Linked DNA regions of Homo sapiens: all the other regions are linked to region 1. Evidence: promoter capture Hi-C in 16 types of primary human blood cells and fetal thymus (Javierre and others, 2016). All regions are on one chromosome and are shown on one strand. The core of a region is centred on a gene start or on the middle of the fragment in contact, and the rest is flanking DNA. Distances in the headings are between cores, read along the strand shown.

Evidence for each region. The method cuts DNA at HindIII sites, captures the fragments that hold promoters and counts their contacts. A CHiCAGO score of 5 or more calls a contact.
Region 2: a contact is called between a fragment that was not itself captured here and the fragment with the promoter of RWDD2B in region 1, in 3 of 17 cell types (neutrophils, naive B cells and M0 macrophages). The highest score is 14.9, in neutrophils.
Region 3: a contact is called between a fragment that was not itself captured here and the fragment with the promoter of RWDD2B in region 1, in 1 of 17 cell types (neutrophils). The highest score is 7.9, in neutrophils.
Region 4: a fragment that was not itself captured here is called in contact with the fragment with the promoter of RWDD2B in region 1 in 3 of 17 cell types (naive CD4 T cells, activated CD4 T cells and non-activated CD4 T cells); the score reaches 7.0 in naive CD4 T cells.
Region 5: a contact is called between the fragment with the promoter of BACH1-IT2 here and the fragment with the promoter of RWDD2B in region 1, in 12 of 17 cell types (neutrophils, naive B cells, total B cells and 9 more). The highest score is 21.1, in neutrophils.
Region 6: a contact is called between a fragment that was not itself captured here and the fragment with the promoter of RWDD2B in region 1, in 6 of 17 cell types (naive CD4 T cells, non-activated CD4 T cells, total CD8 T cells and 3 more). The highest score is 9.2, in naive CD4 T cells.
Region 7: a fragment that was not itself captured here is called in contact with the fragment with the promoter of RWDD2B in region 1 in 1 of 17 cell types (neutrophils); the score reaches 5.6 in neutrophils.

Annotation. Positions count from the first base shown.
Region 1 is chr21:29,018,047-29,020,746 of GRCh38, forward strand. RWDD2B (RWD domain containing 2B) reads right to left here and starts at 1,303. Exons shown (of 5, transcript NM_016940.3): 1 at 1,165-1,303. The coding sequence starts at 1,231. LOC124905005 (a long non-coding RNA gene) reads left to right here. Exons shown (of 2, transcript XR_007067836.1): 1 at 1-201; 2 at 867-2,700. RefSeq lists an enhancer at 1,144-1,393. The HindIII fragment of the contact is 4,408 bases long and covers 258-2,700 here.
Region 2 is chr21:29,408,858-29,411,557 of GRCh38, forward strand. No RefSeq gene overlaps it. Among named protein-coding and RNA genes, the nearest start is that of BACH1-IT2, 38 kb to the left of the region's middle. The HindIII fragment of the contact is 590 bases long and covers 991-1,580 here.
Region 3 is chr21:29,389,060-29,391,759 of GRCh38, forward strand. It overlaps LOC124905071 (small nucleolar RNA U13), which reads right to left and starts at 431; the gene lies at 328-431. The HindIII fragment of the contact is 7,052 bases long and covers 1-2,700 here.
Region 4 is chr21:29,432,696-29,435,395 of GRCh38, forward strand. It overlaps LOC107985486 (a long non-coding RNA gene), which reads left to right and starts at 1,594. Exons shown (of 2, transcript XR_001754998.2): 1 at 1,594-1,674. The HindIII fragment of the contact is 6,796 bases long and covers 1-2,700 here.
Region 5 is chr21:29,371,211-29,373,910 of GRCh38, forward strand. BACH1-IT2 (BACH1 intronic transcript 2) reads left to right here and starts at 1,291. Exons shown (of 2, transcript NR_046564.2): 1 at 1,291-1,353; 2 at 2,032-2,700. The HindIII fragment of the contact is 7,280 bases long and covers 1-2,700 here.
Region 6 is chr21:29,453,173-29,455,886 of GRCh38, forward strand. All of the region lies in intron 1 of LOC107985486 (a long non-coding RNA gene), which reads left to right. Among named protein-coding and RNA genes, the nearest start is that of BACH1-IT3, 42 kb to the right of the region's middle. The HindIII fragment of the contact is 2,995 bases long and covers 1-2,714 here.
Region 7 is chr21:29,493,070-29,495,769 of GRCh38, forward strand. It overlaps LOC105372770 (a long non-coding RNA gene), which reads right to left. Exons shown (of 4, transcript XR_007067840.1): 2 at 2,297-2,423; 3 at 2,105-2,201. Among named protein-coding and RNA genes, the nearest start is that of BACH1-IT3, 1.6 kb to the right of the region's middle. The HindIII fragment of the contact is 5,698 bases long and covers 1-2,700 here.

The DNA of each region.
Region 1 (2,700 bases), core at 53-2,552:
TGCTATGGAGAAAAGTGAAAGGAAAAGTGGGGTGACCAGATATAGACACCGCAATAACTAGGGAGAGATGATGGTGGCTTTGATAGGATTATAGTGGTCAAGTTGGTGAGCTTCAGGTTCTGGATACATGCAGAGAACAGAGGCAACAGGATTTACAGATGAATTACATGAGACACGGAAGAATGACTCCGGGGCTTTAAGGTACTGAAAGTATGGATCTGCCATTTATTTAGACGTTGATGGTCATGGGGAGCTGAAGCTTGGTTTTAGACACAAGTAATGAAGTGCCTACTAAGACACCTGTTAAATAGAGAGGTCTAGCAGGCAGTTAGATGTATAGTTTTGAAGTCTACGAGAGACTCAGCTAGATATATAATCTTGGGAGTCAACACTTATTTGGAACTATATATTTGTTTAAAGTCTCCCAGGGAGTGAGTAAAGTTGGGAGAGGGTGCTATTGAATTGGAGGTATCGAAGATGAAATGGGATTAGCAAAGAAGAACGGGACGGAGGGACTCTTGAACGGACAACTACGGGAGTGATGTCACAGGTCATTTATCTGCCAAATTATTTTCGCTTAAGAGATTTCAGTCCTTCCAAAAAACCCTCAAGATAATTTTATGATTCAAGATTTCAGCGAATGCTGTAAGATAATAGACTGTGGCCGGGCGCGATTGCTCACGCCTGTAATCCCAGCACTTTGGGAGGCAGAGGAAGGGGGACTGCTTGAGCCCAGGAGTTCAAGATCAGCCTGGGTAACATAGTAAGAGCTCGCCTTTATTATTTTTTTAAAAAATAAAATATATTTAAGAGAACGCAGACTGAAACTTGAGATTTCTGAGTGGAATAATATCTTTTCCTTGCAGATTTTTTTTTGAAGAACAGAGCAGGGTACCCCGCGACCCAAGCCAAGACGCTCTCAGGAAGAAAGCCCAGCACGCAGCCGCCCTCGCACCCTGATTGCCCCCGGGGCGAGGTCCCCGGCTGGAGCAGGGCTGCAGAAGCCGGGAAGCAACGCCGAGGACCGAGCCGACCGATGGGCGCATGCAGTGAGGGGAACCGGGGCCGCCATGCCGGGCACGTTCCCAAAGGGTTGCACTGGGCGCTGCAGCGTGGGAAACCCCCGTGGCGGTCACCACTGGCGCTAGCTGAGGCGAGACTCACCTTGAGCCGTGGCCCCCTCACTGCTGTAACCCGGGTTCCATGGCTGCATGGACAGCTCAATTTTCATCAGAAGGGAGCCTCAAAATTCTAGCATACTGCGACCCAAAACTTACAAACCGCCTCAGCTGGCGACCTACCGGAAAAAAAAAAAAAAAGCATGCGGCGCATGCGCGTCCAAGGCCGCGGACCGGAAGCTGGGGCTCGCCTGTTGGGAGCCGCGTCCGCCGGTGTTGGTGTCTGCACTTGGAAGGACGTAGGGAATGCGTTGTCCCTGCTAGGTACTTTTCAGTCGCAGAGTTCTCTTCTTCTTCTTTCTTTCTTCCTTTTTTTTTTTTTTGAGACGGAGTCTCGCTGTGTCTCTCAAGCTGGAGTGCAGTGGCGCGATCTCGGCTCACTGCAGCCTCCGCCTCCTGGGTTCAAGCGATTCTCCTGCCTCAGCCTCCCGAGTAGCTGGGATTACAGGCGCCCACCACCATGCCCAGATAATTTTTGTATTTTTCAGTAGAAATGGGGTTTCACCATGTTGGCCAGGCTGGTCTCGAACTCCTGACCTCAGGTGATCCACCGGCCTCGGCCTCCCACAGTGCTGGGATTACAGGCCTGAGCCACCGTGCCCGGCCGGAGTTTTTCTACTTAATACCTCTCCATGCCAACCCCGTTGTCATTTCCCAGCGGCCGCCTCTATAACGGGCACTTTTCAGGGACAAAGAATTGGTCCGTTAATGTTCCTCAAATTCGAACGCGCCTAGGAATAGTTCGGGGATCCTGTTGAAGTGCAGATCAGGATTCCGTAGGTAGGGGTGGGGTTCCAAATTCTACATTTCTAGTATCTTCCCACACGATGGTGATCCTCCTTGTCCCTGAATCATGGAGGAGGGCAATTAGGGAGATGTGAGCCTGGATGCATGGTGGCCTTGGCTATCTTAGGTGTTCTTGCCCATTAACCAAGCTGGGAGGAACCGTGTGAATGCATATCTATCCCTGTTAATAAAAGGGTAGTTTGAAGGAGATGCTGACAGGAGAATAATTAGAAATGTTTTTCTTCCCAATCCAACTATATGCAATACACTTTATAATATTCATTTTAGAAATGTCATAGATAAGATTTGTAAACATTGACATTTAGCAATACTAAATATCACTGCTAGGTCTCCCCTCCACTTTTTTTTTTTAAACAAAAATACGACAGTATGTATTGTAGGTCTTCATAAACTACGTCTTCTGCATAGTGTTTCATGAGCGTTTTTCAATGTCATAATTTATTTTTTCCTCCAACATTTATTATGAAAAAATTCAAGTGTAAAGCGAAGTCGAGAGAATTTTACAGTGGAGCAGACCTCAAGAGAAGGGGAAGGATGGATTTCCCCTCTATTTAGCAGTGTCTGAAGACATTTTGGGTTGTCACAACTGGAAGGATGGTATTGGCATGGGGTAGGTAGAGCACAGGGATGTTCCTCAACTTCCTACAATGAACAGGACATCCCCCGACAACAACAAATTTGCTGGTCCAAAATGTTGATAGTGTTGAGGTTGAAA
Region 2 (2,700 bases), core at 36-2,535, 390 kb after region 1:
GTAAAAATACAAAACTTAGCTGGGCATGGTGGTACATACTTGTAATCCCAGATACTCCAGAGGCTGAGGTAGGAGAATTGCTCAGACCCTGGGAGGCAGAGGTTGCAGTGAGCCGAGATAATGCCATTGCGCTCCAGCCTGGGTGACAGAGTGAGACTGTCTCAAAAAAAAAAAAAAAAAAAAAAAAAAGAGTGGGAATAGTAGTGAAGTATTACCTGGATATGCTAGGATTTCGATCAAGGGAAAAGGTTTCCCCCAGGGACAGTTCTCTATAAAGGTCTTGCTTAGGATGTGGTGTGGGTCGGGGGAGTTGGCCCTGGAGTCCTATTTACTGTGCATTAAAAAAATACATCAGGCACAATTCAAAGCCTTTGTCTGGTCATCAAAATCCTGTGATGCTGGAATGATGCATTTTATCACCTTGTTCTCAATCTTCTAACAGAATCCAAACACTTGACCAGCTATATGATGAATTTCTTCAGTAAACAATTTGCACCTTGCAGTCATCTGAAACAGAAGAATTTTTCTACATAATTATTTACTCCTTAAAATCATATTTATTTTCCTGAATCACTTGCATTTGCTTACTTAGCCAAGAAATGGTGAAAAAGTCCTAGTTAGATTCTAAAATGCAGTCTGTACAAATAGATATGTCGTTCTTGTTCATGCTGTATATTAATATGTAAAACAATGCCTTCCACATAATAGATGCCATTAACCACCAAAAGAAAAAAATGAATGAATGAATGTGTTCTTCATATTTATTCTCCTACAATTTCGGGATGCTGTTTTTTCTATTAATGTAACTCCAGCTAGTGGGAGATATGAAGAGCCTAGGAAATAGAAAAGAAGGAAACAGCTGGAACTCACAGGCAGGTCAGGGGACTCTAATCATCTTTCATTTTATACACACAAGATTAAAGAGTCCCTCTGAGTTTTGATTAAGGATGCACAGTTATAAGATTAAATACCAGTGAGCCAAATTAGAAAAGCTTTAACTCCAGTCTCAGGATTCATCAAAACTCTTCCTGCTACCCCCTCCCTCACATTAAGCCATCTTTACAACATGGGATTAGAGCAAACTATTTAAGACTTCATGTCCCCAGGCTCTTTGTCACCTTTGCTGTACAGCTGTCCTCATTCTGATCACAAACAATTCTCTCATCAAGAATCAAAGCTCATTTCCCCTTGAAATTTCTGTTTATATCCATGACTGAATTCATTCCAGCACCTCTACACGTATTTATTTATTTTGGCGACCTGCAGGGTCCTATATCAGGTACAACATGCACTCTTGTCTTATGCATTGTCATGAAACATATTAAAACTTAGTATGCTTGTCTGTTTTAGAAAAGACCTCTTTAATCATTCCAGTAATTATGCAAACACTCCCACAGGGCCAACAATAAACATGTCCTTCCCTTCCTGAGAAGCCTTCTGACTGTCTCCTTGGAAGCCACACCAAAGGGATTGGACAGAACGTGCAATTAATAACTCAAATGAGGAGAGGTTAATATGGTCATCAGGCATCTGAGAAATAAAAGTGTCATTGCTTTATTAAAAGCTGTAATTCAGGTACAAGCTTACATAGTAATGATAAGACAATTTTAAAGAAATAAATGAAAGGACCAGAAGAAAAAAAAATGTTGATCTTAACTCTAGATGAGATTTTAGATTCTGCAAACATATTTTCTTGGTTGATAAAGAATGAGATCCATTGACCTTTAAATGTATTATTTGTTGCAAGAAAATGTAGAAGTCCAAGGAAACTCTACAGGGACTTTGCTACTTGAGGTTTGATAACCTGTCCATGAGTTTCCTAAGTACAGTGAATTTTCGAGGGTCCGTTTTCATGTGGCCTCAGGAGATCAAATTTAATCATTTAGGTTTTCCTTTCTCCTACTTGGGAGGGGTGTAGGGGCTTGAGAAGCTCAGGGCTATTTAAAAAGACCTACATGGGCCAGACGTGGTGGCTCATGCCTGTAGTCTCAGCACTTTGGGAGGATGAGTGGGGAGAATCACTTGAGCCCAGGAGTTTGAGACCAATCTAGGCAATATAGGGAGACCACTGTCTGTATGTGTGTATATATATATATATATATATATATATATATATATATATATATATATAAATTAGTCATATGTGGTGTCACACACCTGTCATCCAAGCTACTCAGGAGGCTGAGGCTGGAGGATCTCTTGAGCCCAGGAATTTGAGGCTTCATTGAACCTTGATCAAGCCACTGCCCCAGCCTGGGCAACAGAACAAGACCCTGTCTCAATAAAGTAAAATAAAATGGCCTATACTATCTTTTTGTTGTTGTTGTTGCCTCACTTAGTATCAAAGAAGATTAAGAGAAATGTAAAGAGCTAGACTTTGAGCTCCTATGTAATAAGGTCCAGGTATATGAAAGAGAATAATGATGAGGCCCTGATGTACATCCCATAACGTGAGAAATGACAGTTAGAAGAACAGGGGGACTCTGTTTAGTGGTAACATGAACTCTTTAAGGAACTCTTTAAGGAAGCTGGGACAAGGGAGAGCCTTCAATTTCTCATACACAGAAGCCAATATGGGCTGTTTATGGTTGAATGAGGAGGAGGATGGTTTGGGTTCCTTGACCTATGTCACTGAGGTACAATCTTTATTTCAAACCCTCCCAGGCCACGATGAAAAGACTCCTGGAAAACCATGAGGTG
Region 3 (2,700 bases), core at 37-2,536, 370 kb after region 1:
TCCTGAATGGTCGTTATTAATTTTCCATGCTCTTTTGTGGAATGTTTGGCATATGACTGAGTTACAAATAATGGATGAAGGCTGAAGTCATAGGTATAACTTCCAGAAAGTATACTTGGAGGGTAGGTATTATGCATCTTTCTCCTTTTTCCTTTCTGCAGGGTAAATTCCAGACATCATATTTTTAGCTGGAGAATCCATATTGGCAAAGGACCACACACACTAGTATAGCAATGCAGGAAGCTCAGCATATCTGGGGTCCCCAGTGACTGTGGAACTTCTATGTCCGCCCAGACTGCCTGCTTCTGACTTTCCCCCACTTTTTTATGTCAGATATTTAATGTGCTAATGATGTAACAAGGTTTGAGGGAGGCACGTCTCACTCATGAGCATGCAAACCCAATCATCACACTTACGAACCACAAAATGGTCTAATTCTGGATTTTTTAAAATAAGAAATCAAAACCACATGTTTTAAAGCCACTATTAATTTAGTTTATCTTAGCTATTTCAATATCATGTTATTTAATAGTTTGTATTTTTACTCTACTTCGCAGTTTTTATTGTCTTATATTTTCTGATTTTGAGCCATATTTTGTTTGTTTCAGTTTCTCATGATGTGGAAGTTACATATCCTCCTCAGAGTCTTCTAGTAATTGACTTTAAATTTTAAAGATACATTCTTTAACACATTTTTCTTTAGTTATCAAGGAATTTGATCATTTGTCCTCATTTGAAATAGCATGATAAATTTATTGCACTTTTATATTTGTCTTCTACCATGCTAGACTTTGCTAATACAACCCATGTAATTACTCTTACATTATTTATAAGAATTTCATGTATTTTTTCTTTTTAAGTTTACTTTGTATCATTTGTATTTGTGTTTGTATTAATGCTTATTTAGATTAAATTCACCACAGTAATAATTTCAGTTCTTGATACTATTTATTTTCTAATACAATGCTCTCAGGCTTGTGATCTTAATTTTTCTTTCCATCTCTCTTTTTTTTTTAATTTGAGACAGGGTTTTACTCTGTTACTCAGGCTGGAGTGCAGTGGCGCAGTCTGGGCTCACTGCAACCTCCACCTCCCGGTTCAAGCAATTCTCAGGCTTCAGCCTTTGGAATAGCTGGGATTACAGGCGTGCACCACCACGCCAAGCTAATTTTTGTATTTTTAGTAGAGGGGATTTCACCATGTTGGCCAGACTGGTCTCAAATTCCTGCCCTTAAATGATCTGCCTGCCTCGGTCTCCCAAAGTGTTGGGATTACAGGCATGACCTACGGCACCTGGCCTCTTTCTTTCTTTTCTTAAAGACATTTTTAGGATTTTTTTTTTCCCAAGAAAGGTATTATTATAAGCCCGTATATAAGATCTTAGGTGTTTAAAAATATTTTTCCTGTTGTCTGAATTGAAAATTCTTACGTTCCACATTGTTTTCCTTAAAACTCTGTAAACATTTCCTGTGTGTGTATGTTTGAAACTTAATGCTATATGGAAGTATAAGATCATCTTGACTTCGTTTTTTCTTAGTGACCAGGTTTTTTCCAAGTGAATGTTTACAAGATGTCTTTCTGTTTTGTAGTTATAAAATAGTTTCAGAATGCTTTATGTGTAATTTATATATTCATCTATTTATTTTGTGGATCATGGGGAGTGAGTCTTTTTGCTTGCACAGTTAAGGCTTTTTCAGCTCAAATACATTTTCTTTGTTGATGATTTTGGTTATTGCTTTGCTTGTAATTATCTTGGTATTCTCCTAAGAAAGACACTAAATTATTTAGTTGGCTTTCCAAACTCTCCTTCAAGATCATCATCTTGCTCGTCACTTGTATCTTTGTTTTTCCCTTTTCTTTTAAAAGGTTCTGAAATTTGCCCTTCACCAGATGCCTTTGATTTGTCATGGTGACATCTGCTTTTCATGTGCTCTTTTTCCCTGCTATTATTCTTTCAGTCTCTCTCCTCTGCCCTTCCTGCGCACATCATCTGCCTCCTTTTAGTAAGTAGTGTGTTATTATTATGATTTTAAAATCTCAGCTTGAGATTTAATTTAATTTCATCTTTTCATCTCTTCTTGAGTTCATGTCAACCTATTCACTTTTTGTGACTCCTTGAAGAAGCCAGGCTGTCTTGTGGCCCGTTGAAAGCACCTAGTTTCCTACAGCTTAATTCTGGTTCTTTCAGTAGATAATTTTCAGAGATTGGTTCTGTCTCTGAGTCTATAGTTGTTGTTCCCTTTTTCCTTAGTCTCATATTGTTTGCAAGGCCCCATGCTCTCTTTTAAATATTTTAATTTAATTTTATTTTAAGTTCCAGGATACGCGTGCAGAACATTCAGGTTTGTTACATAGGTATACATGTGCTATGGTGGTTTGCTGCACCTATCAACCCGTCATCTAGATACTAAGCCCCTCACGCCTTAGCTATTTATCTTGATGCTCTCCCTCCCCCTCCCCCACTCCCCAAACAGGCCCCAATGTGTGTTGTTCCCCTCCTTGTGCCCATGTGTTCTCATTGTTCAGCTCCCACTTATAAGTGAGAACATGGAGTGTTTGGTTTTCTGTTCCTGTGTTAGTTTGCTGAGGATAATGGCTTCTAGCTCTATTCATGTCCCTGCAAAGGACATGATCTCTTTTCTTTTTATGGTTGCATAGTATTCCATGGTGTATATGTACCACATTTTCTTTATCCAGTCT
Region 4 (2,700 bases), core at 201-2,700, 410 kb after region 1:
TGATGGCCTTTGATGGGCATCCTAGAATGGATGAATAGTCATTGTTGTTATTTTTGCCTATCTGAGCATCATTCCCATTGCATTTATAACTTGGGGGTAGCTTAAAGGTCTATTTTCCAATATTGTAAAAAATAATATTAAAACCAATGCTCAAGAAAGTTATGTGAGTTTCCCAGTAGCAGACAATCTTGAGGGTTTTTAATATGTATCACTCAGAAGTATGAAAAATCAACAGAAATGAATAGCTCCTTGTGGGCTTCCAGGCATTGGGGCACATGTCTAGGGATTTTTAATAGCTCTGGGTCCTTTCTGTTACACTGTAAATCCATAAACATGCAACTACCTATCTGTGCCTCAATAAACTTGTTATTTTGGTCATTACAAAGAGGCATTACACTAATGCAGGAATAGAAAAATAGAATGCATGTAGTTCAACATATGGCATCTCTGAATTTTATCACTTTTTGAATTAACCAAGTGTTAAGCATTTAATTGATGCCCTAGGTCAATGGAATTCTACTGAACTGTATGATCTTGGATAAGTCACTTAATTTCTCTTCTGAGTGTTGGGTTAGTTATACAATTGACAGGTTAAATTAGATCATCTTTTAGCACTAAGGTTTTATGATCTTCCATCTATATCCCATAGATGATATGACATCTATGGGAAATACGATCTAAGTTAGATGGTTCATCATTGCTGGGGAAATACAAAACCAACAATGATTCTGACAGAATGATTAGCATCCCTGAAAGATCGATTATACCAAGACTTATTTATCCACAAGCGAGGGATTGTTTAGTTACTCTGGACAATTATGGTTGTTATCTTCAAGTGGTCTTATCACAGACAGAACTGCAGCTTTTGGTCTTTTCTAAGAGATTTAAATCATTTTAATGGGGCTTATAATTCCACATCAAATCATGACTAACAATAAGATAAAGTTCAGAGGCTTAAAAATTGCCGTAAGAGCAGAGAAATAATCTGTAGCAAATCCACAAGTTAATGAGATGCCTGATGTGGGAGTGTGCATTTTCTAAGAAAAACCATTCCTCTGAAAGATACTGATCCCAGACTTCAGAGAAATGATGAGGGCCTTGGAACTTTCCTGCAGGCTAATCTGCCAGAGAACCAGTTTGCCAATCCCTCGGATATTTGCTCCTGCTTGTTTCTTTTCCAATTGCAGTTGTTTACATTCCTCTGCCCGGCTACCTCCTCACATTCCTCTTATATATATATTTTTCTTAGCTTCCTCCTTCCCTGCTGTATTTGAGGCATGCCTAACAACTCTCTTTCATTGTTATTTATTTATATTGCTAAGAACTATGGGAAAACACATAGATTGACGAAAGTAACAGATCTCAGAGAATGAATCTCAAAATATACTCAAGTAATTGATATGGTTTGGCTGTGTCCCCATCCAAATCTCACCTTGAATTGTAGCTCCCATAATTCCCACGTGTTGTGGGAGGAACCTAATCAGAGTTAATTGAATCATAGGGGTGATTTCCCCCATGCTGTTCTTGAAGTAGTGAATAAGTCTCACGAGATCTGAATGTTTTATAAGGGGAAATCCCTTTCACTTGGTTTTCATTCTCTCTCGTCTGCCACCATGAAAGATGTGCGTTTCACGTTCCACTATGATTGTGAGGCCTCCCCAGCTGCATGGAACTGTGAGTCCCTTAAACCTCTTTTTCTTTATAAATTAACCAGTCTCGGGTATGTCTTTATCAGCAGTGTGGAAACAGACTAATACAGCGATTGTCTCTAGAATTCACTGAATTGTAAACAAGGCTACATATACATTCTGGTAGCGTCCTTTCTAGATTCCTTCCATGGCTGTTCCCTACTTCTTTTGTTAGTGTTTTCTTTTTTTTCCCTCTAGTTCTGTCTATGTTGGGCACTTGCTGGGGATGCTTAGAAGTCAGCCTAAGGTCCAGTAGGTCTGGTCCTGTTGTCCCTGGACTGTGCTGGTCTTGTCTTCCTGTTTTTTATTGTTCTAGCACCCCTTTACTAACCTTTAGGCTAATGTTTAAATTGACCTTAGTCTAAATGGCATGTTCAAAGGCGAAGTGGCCTTTATGATGTGATCATCCTTGGATTAATTTTTAGGTTATTATTTCCTCTCTCAGCCTTGATCCTTGGGGATGCCAATTTTATTTGCTGGTTCTGCTACCGGTGGAGGGTGTCCAGGTTCTCGGTGTCTTGAACATAAATTGGACAAAACGTACAAAGAAAGAAAGAATGAAGCAACTAAAGCAGAGATTTATTGAAATCAGAAACATACTCCACAAGGTAGGAGTGGGCCGAGCATACGGCTCAAGGGCCTGGTTACAGAATTTTCTGGAGTTTAAATTCTCTCTAGAGGTTTCCATTGGTTACTTAGTGTACCATCCTATGCAGATGAAGAGGCTAAAGTGAAGTTACAAAGTTATTTACTTGGTGTACACCCTATGCAAAGTGGATGTGTACACCCTATGCAAAGTGGATGTGTACACCCTATGCAAAGTGGATGTGTACACCCTATGCAAAGAAGAGGATGTTTCCTGTCATAGCTGAAGTAGAGTTACAAAGTTATTTACTTGGACTTAGAAGGCTGGGTTGGGGTTTTTCCATTTAATTTAGTTCTAGGAAGTCCTTAGGTTCCCTGCCTCCAGACCCTATTTCCTGCCTCAGTTCCTAGTTCCAATCCTTGGTTC
Region 5 (2,700 bases), core at 41-2,540, 350 kb after region 1:
GAAGCAAAGCAATTACCTAGATAATTAAGGAAAAACAAACCTGTATGTGGCAGGTAACTTGGGGAGCTGCTTCTGATTTTCTAGGCAACTATTTTCATTCTTCACTTCTCTGGTGTCAGCAGGAATCTGAGCTAGATCCCAAGAGCAACTCGAACAATTACAATGCTCTCAGTTGGCAAACCCGGCTTCATAGCAACTTCCCTCCTCATTGATCTAGAGTTTGAAATAGCTTTGTCAGATCTCGGGTGTGTTCCTGCTGATTTATGGCAAAATCCCAGTAACAGCTGTGAAAATGTTTGTCCATTTGTGAAACTTCAGAAAGCGGGTCTAGCAAATCATTCTCACCTGGTGATTCTGGGGCAAGGTGAGAACTGTACCCTCACAGGCCGGGTGAATAAGATTCTAGTTGCGGTGGAGGCCAAGGAAGAAGATGTACTATGAGTCAATCTCTCTATGAGGCATTTGCTGAACCTTCCCCTCCTACACCTTCCTACAAGGCAGGTCCGATGACTTTTACTTTACAGATGAGAAGATGGAGCCTCCACAAGGCACATAGCTGGTGAGTGACAAAACCAGAATTCAAACCCAGATCCATTTGATAGTGACATTTGTTTCCACTACCCTAGTGGCTCTGGGGGAAGCCAGGACACCCATATTTTTGTAAAGTCCCGTAGTTGTTTCTAGTGTCATCCGGGTTGGAAACTGTATATTAAGTCAGTGGTTCTCAAACTTTAGCATGCATTAGTATCCCCTGTTAGGCTTGTAAAAACACAGATTGCAGGCCCCACACTTAGATTTCTGACTTGGTAGGTAGGTCTGAGTTGGGAACCAGGAACTTGCCTTTCTAACAAGTTCCCAAGTGATGTTGATGCGGGGGCCTGGGCACTACACTATGGGAACCACCACCGCATTAAGGTGAACTCAGAGCTGAATCTGACATGAAAATCTGCATTAATGGAGATGACATCAGATATCTGCAAAGTCACTTAATAGAGAACGGTTGAGACTAAGTCTTGACTAATATTAAAACTAACACATCTAAAAAGACTATGTCCATCACAGGTGGGTGGTCAGAATAGAAACATTACATAATGGGAAAGAAAATGTAGCTGATGCTATTCATCTAGAAGGAAGAAGTGATGTAAGGGTCAGTTTCCACCTTTGCTTTGAATTCCTTGGACAGCAAGCAACCATATGAGCATTAATTTGATTTATGTTTTTCAGGTATCGTATCTGATTTCAGATACATATGATGGTCTCAAGTGTGTTTTTTACCACCACCACTTTGTAGGCCTGTTGATGCCACTGCTGTTGAAGTCTATGTGAATGGTGCCCCCTGGTGGAAGGAAAAAGGTAGTTTATTACAGTCCGTTGTAAATGAGTGACCTAGCGTTGTTATCATGCTCTGCTCCTAGAGACCACTCCACTCACCTTAAACTAGCGAGCCTGAGGACCGGTCCCGGGGACCCATGAGAACATGATCTCCGAGAGCCCTGCCCTTGAGAAAGGTTCTCCTCAGCAATACTCCAACTCACCCCAGACCTAAAATTTTTTTTTTTTTTTTTGGAGACAGAGTCTTGCTCTGTCGCCAGGCTGGAGTGCAGTGGCATGATCTTGGCTCACTGCAACCTTTGCCTCCTGGGTTCAAGCAATTCCCTTGTCTCAGCCTCCCGAGTAGCTGGGACTACAAGCGCACACCACCTCGCCTGGCTCATTTTTTGTATTTTAGTAGAGACGGGGGTTTCACCATGTTGGCCAGGATGGTTTCGATCTCCTGACCTTGTGATCTGCCAGCCTTAGCCTCCCAAAGTGCTGGGATTACAGGCGTGAGCCACCATGCACGGCCCTAAAATTCTTAAAACGTGAAAATGGGGGAAGATGGTTAACACATCCATATGCTATCATGATATATATCTTTCTTCTTAGTTGTATGGGATGAAATGATGCCAAGATTTTCCTTACAGAGTAGGGATTGTGACTGAAGCCTTTGGACAGGTATTTAGGCCCTTATGAGTGTCCCCTCTTGTCTAGAGAATGGGACGCCAGGAATGTCAGATGCTTTTCAGCCTCTCCCCTGCTCTCACGCCTAGAAACAAGAGCTCCACAAAGGTCTCTCATTCCTCAAGGCTGATGAAAAGCCCAGCAGCTAAATGGCCAGAAGCCTGTCTTTGTGAGAAAGCAAGAAGTCTCTCGGTTTGAACTCTTCGGTCTAGAGACAGATTCTTCTACCAGTGGTGTAAAACCCTAAAGAGGCTCTGCATAAGACCTACCACTGCTCTGTGTCTCATGACACCCTGCCCCCACCACTGGAAGGCCACACTTATTCTTTGTGTTCATGCTTCTCTATGATCTGCAAGTTTCCCAAGAACACCTGGATTCGAAGCTCAAGTCCACCGCTAAATAGCTATGTGACCTAATGTGTCAGATGGTTATAAGGATTACAGAGAAAGAGGTATAGATAGAGCTGGTAGCAGTGACAGACACATCTTTACATCATATAATTCTGACATGCATTATTATTGTAGTTTTCTGTTATTCAGACATACTTGTTAAGAAGGTGCTGGGGACAATTTGTACATGCTGGGTATGAAAGGGCTTGGAAAGTATTTCATGAATGGAGTTGGCATTGAGGAGTCCAATCCATGTACAATGGGTAGAATTAGAAAGGCATTGAGGATAGTGTATTAGTCTGTTTTCAAA
Region 6 (2,714 bases), core at 94-2,593, 440 kb after region 1:
TCTTTAATCTTGTATCTACATCTCTTTTCTCCTCTTCCTTCTCTTACATTCAGTAAATCTAAGGCTTCTTTGAGTTTCTGTGCCCTCTCTTACCTATTGGCAATGTCTGTAAAGACACAGCTCACCTCTTTCTTCTCTTCTGGGAAATATTATTAGCCATTATGCTTTCAGCCCACATTTGTTCACTTATTATTTCCCTGTGTAGACCCTACAAAATGGGAACCAGATCTTTTTCTATAGTTTTAGATAAAGGTAGTCTGGCAGTTTTCTAGAGAAATTCATTATTAGAAATTTATTCTAATGGGAACCCATTTTTGGCTTACTCTGTTGGTTGCTTTGACCTCTGTTTTTCCTTGCAGAGCTCGACTTATTAATATCATTTAGGAGCACTGGGAAACATCATTCTGCATATTTATCAGGCAATTCATACACACATCCCTACAGTTCAGTGTATAGAGCTTCTCTGTTTTGGACTTAAACTGAAAGATTTTAATGACTGGTCGTATTGGCCCAGCTCCTAATATGCAGATGAATCATTGTGTCTGCACTGCGGAGTGTTGGCCATCTTTTTACTTCTGCTTTTCTTAAGTAGATGCAAATATTGAGGGGATCCTAAAGAAGGACAGGAAGAGTACCAGCATTTTTTTTTTTCTAAATCTGCCACTAAAGTCCCTTTGGATTGGATTTTAGATAGTCATGGCATTTGAATAACCTGCATTTATTAATCTCTGGAAATAAGTGAAAAACTAGAAAAGGCTGAACGTACAATCAATATAATGCAATACTGGGGCCTAACAAAGTGGATAAATGATATTTATCAGCAGGCGACTGCTGTTTAATTCACAGGCACAAATGCCCACATTCATCTGTGACACTGAATCAGTTTTCTTGTGAGTGTTGTCTTCCCTGAGGTTTCTTTCTCTTACTCTTCTCTCCTTGCTCAAATTTCAGAGTTGTCATCCACAATTCTGGGAAAGGTGATGTTTCACTTGCTTCATTCAATAAAGATGGGGTTTAGGGGGGTGACACAAGGTATGGCTACCAATGTCTAATGCTGGTATTATATCCTTTATCCAGTATGCTGGGGAGAAAGTACAATCATTTTGCTTTACTTCATAGCTATCTGGTTCATTAAATCCCATGAGTCTTGGTAAATTATGAAGCAATTATTGATTTTGTTGTGGTCAACATCAAGATATATATTGATTTTCCCACCAGTCAATAGTTTCCAGAGGCATAATCAATATTGATGTTTGCTGAACATGTGTGTTAATGTCAGTGTGGGTATATGTACTTAGATCTCTACACTCAGATATTTATTTTATACTCTTTCTGAACGTTTTTGTAAAAAACTATTTTCTCCCAAAGATCCTATTATTTTTTGGCTGATTTATTCAGTTCTTCCTTTTTGCTTTACATTTTTAATCTCATTTATTCTTCCCCGGATTGATAATGGAAAGGAAAACTAAGGCTTTGGAAGAAGTCTATTTGCCTTTAATGAACCGGTTGGGGGTGAGTCTTCCTGATGAGATTGTGATTAATTGCAAAGTGAGTATTACTTCTTGTCTCCATCCTGTCGGTTCGATAGAATGACAAAAAAAGTTGAAGACTTTCACTCTCCATTCCAGCATCTACCAGACCAACATAACTCAGTAAGCACATCTGAGAATCCCCCTCATTTACTCCCAGTACTTTTTTCAATTATGTGGAACATAGACGAACAGGTCAAACTTGGATTTAGACAAAGTTAAATGATCAACTACATGATGCAATTTAATGGGCACAAAAATAAAAAAAAAAAAAACCTCTTACTGTCTTACATAATAGCCTAAAGTCTACCAGTAGGAATTTATTATAAATATCCTCTTAGAAAATTCAGATTGCTCCTGAGTAAATTAGAATATCAGGAAACTCACCCTTAGCCATCTATTGAACACATACTAGATATCTAGTTCTTTGCTATCATTTTGAGTTGGCACTTTACTTGGTTGACTCCGTGGTTCTTTAGTCTTTATCTGCACTCCACGTTTCTTTAAGCTAGCTGATGTTTCTCATATATTAATTGGCTTCTTCGACCAGTGAGGCAAATGAATTAGTACTCATTTCATCAGTGAGTTTTTTCTTTTCATCTAGAAAGATGCATTCCATCTAGGAAATGGGGGATTTGATGGCATGTGAGAAAGGTGAGAAGAAAGGAATAAATTTAAAGTACAGCAAATTGCCATCCTATACATGCATGTGTGCATGCCCTCTGGTATATATGTATCAGATGCTAGGTGGTAAGCAATAATTTGCCATGAAGCAGTTTGGTAGGGGTGAACTTCTCAGAGTAATTTCAAGCCAGTTATTGACTCCCAATAACAACTTAGCATTCTGATTCCCAGAGGATAATGTGGTCAAGAAAAGAGAAAGATAACGCATACATGACAAAATCAACCTCCCTCATTAAAACAATTTCCCTAATTGATCAGTGCTTCAGAGCATTCCATGTAGTGGCCGGGGAAAAAGTGCAGTACAGAAAAAAACTGGTTCTTGCAAAAGAGAGATAGCTTTGATGTGACAGAGACAGTGTGACAATAACCAAGTCCACTTTTCTGTAATACTGATCTGCCAATGCTTTGTATAGTGCTTAAGACCCATGTGGAGAAAATAGCAGTTCACATTCTGTTGATGCATATTTAAAGCTAAGAACTTAAAAATGAGATTTTATGTTT
Region 7 (2,700 bases), core at 46-2,545, 480 kb after region 1:
CACCATCCTCCCACTTGTCAATCATCTGGGTTGTCACCCTTGACCATTCCCTCTCTTTCTCTTGCAGCCAAACACCACTGTTGTTGGCTTTGCCTTCTAGACAGCTCTGCCATACATCCACTTGTTTTTGTTCCCACTGCCACAATCTTACTCCATGCTACCACTGCTTCTCTCCCAGATGACTTGCAATGGCCTAATAATTAGACTCCTAATAATTAGACTCCTGGCTGGAGTGCAGTGGCACAATCTTGGCTCACTGCAACCTCTGCCTTCTGGGTTCAAGAAATTCTTCCTGCCTCAGCCTCCCGTGTAGCTGGAATTACAGGCTACCACCACCACGCCCAGCTAATTTCTGTATTTTTAGTAAAGACAGGGTTTCTCCATGTTGGCCAGGCTGGTCTCGAACTCCTGACCTCAGGTGATCCGTCCGCCTCGGCCTCCCAGAGTGCTGGGATTACAGGCCTGAGCCACTGTGCCCGGGCTGCTTCCCAATTTTCAAGACTCATCTGATGTCCCTCACTTCATCTTGTACTTTGCCAGATTACTCTGGGAGTTCACACTGAGCTTCCTTTTGGTGATATTTTAAGGCACTTAAAATTCACCAAATTCTTCATCTAACTGATATATTTTGAGAACTAATTGTTCCTGTGCTAGTCTTACTTCTTCAAATAGATTCTAAGTTCCCTAAAGTATGGAAATCTGGTTTATCATATTTCCATATGCCCTCAGTATCTGACACATGTTGAGTTCAGAGTAGGTGCACAAGAATTGAGGGGAGAAGTCTGGAAGGGATGGACATTTAGGAAGATGGAGGATCTGTAAAACCCTCTTGTCCATTTTTCACCAGTTGTCCTTGTTTTCACCAGTTTTTATTTCATCAAATATCCCCCCTAGATTTAAAACTCTCTGTTTAGCTCTTTTAAATCCAATAAAACACTAAACAGAGGATAAATTTAGCTCCTGGTAGAGGGTCTGCAAATGCAGATGTAGAGCATGTGGGAAGATTTCCAGGAGCTTTAGCAGAAAGTACCATATATTGGGCATTAGCTTTGGAGGCTGATTATAAAAGTCATTTTCTGTTTGTGATTTTGTAATCTTACTCTCAGGTGAGCTGTGGTCATTGCTGACAGGCAGGTCCATGCACAACAACCGTATCATGGTGCCTTTTTTCATCAATCATGAATATTTTTGTGGGGGGGGGCTTTTTTTTTAAAGAAATCAATTGAAAGAAAAGGTAAAATAGGATGATCTGTGCTAGTTTGAGAAACAGATTAAAGAATACTAGAATACTTTCAAAAATTTATTCAAAGAGATTCTAAGAAGAAGACAAAAAGGTTTCTCTTTTCTTGTTGTAAAGATTCTAAACTCCTTTGGGAGGCTGAGGCGGGTGGATTACCTGAGGTCAGGAGTTTGAGACCAGCCTGACCAACATGGTGAAACCCCGTCTCTACTAAAATACAAAAAAATTAGGTGGGCATGGTGGTGGGTGCCTGTAATCTCAGCTACTTGGGAGGCTGAGGCAGGAGAATCACTTGAACCCAGGAGGCGGAGGTTGCAATGAGCTGTGATCGCGCCATTGCACCCCAGCCTGGGCAACAAGAGAGAAGCTCTGTCTCAAAAAACCAAACCAAACCAAACAAACAAACAAACAAAAATATTCTAAACTCACCAAGGCATTATCTTGAGGGCTGCTCTCATAAGACAGAAGGATGCCCCTGGACACCTGTGAAGTGTATGGGTGTGTGTGTGTGTGAATGTGTTTGTGTTGAAAGTGTTTTGGGGGAACAGGGCCTAGAATGGGGAAGCCTGGGAATAGTAGAATCCAACTACCATGGCCGTTTGTTATTTCACTGTTGAGAAACCTTCTACCTGTAATAAGATGGTTATTAAAATTTTAATCAGAACTTTTCTGTGCACCTGAGGGCCAGGTCACCGAGTTTGCAGCTCAAGTATGTAATTCCCATATAAAGGACTTTAATTAAAAATAATAATGATAGTGTTATTTTCAATTTCTGAAATCTTGATCGTGTTTTCATTTGTCTGATCTCATTTTGATTTTCATTCTCTTAACAAGCCCATGAAGCAAGTAGGCAAGAATTACTACCTTCAGGAACCGCAATCCATTCTATTTGTGAAAATTTTCCCTTGGTGATCCATTTCATAGTGTATCACAAATTCCATCTCCTCTTTTCTATACCTGTCTAGAAATATCAATACATGTAAACTACACATCTTTTAAATAACACTGTGTTATATGTGAAAGCGTAATTAACATAAAAGAATATATTTTACATACATCAAGCATAGCTAGAGGTCTCTCTTGGCAGACTGAGAGGCAAATGATGTGCTCTGGGGTTGCCTGTCATTCATCTGTGAAACCCAAAGGGCCTTCTTGAGATCTGACCCAAGGTGATGTTTTGTCCCTGTCCACATAAAAAGATGCTAAAATTGCTGTTGCTAAAGACGAAAAGAGTAATCTCACATAGGGCACCTAATTATATCAATATGATGACTGTGGACTGTATATGGACACTGAGAATTCCTAGGGAGCCCACATATACAAACCCACTCATCACCACCCAGGAGACGTCAGGGTGTGGTCTGCTTTAAGGAGCAGTCTTCCTGTTATAGTAGCCTACTCTGAATGTGCCCCCTTGGGTTCTCTCCCAAATACGCTGAACATCTAGTCATGGATACATC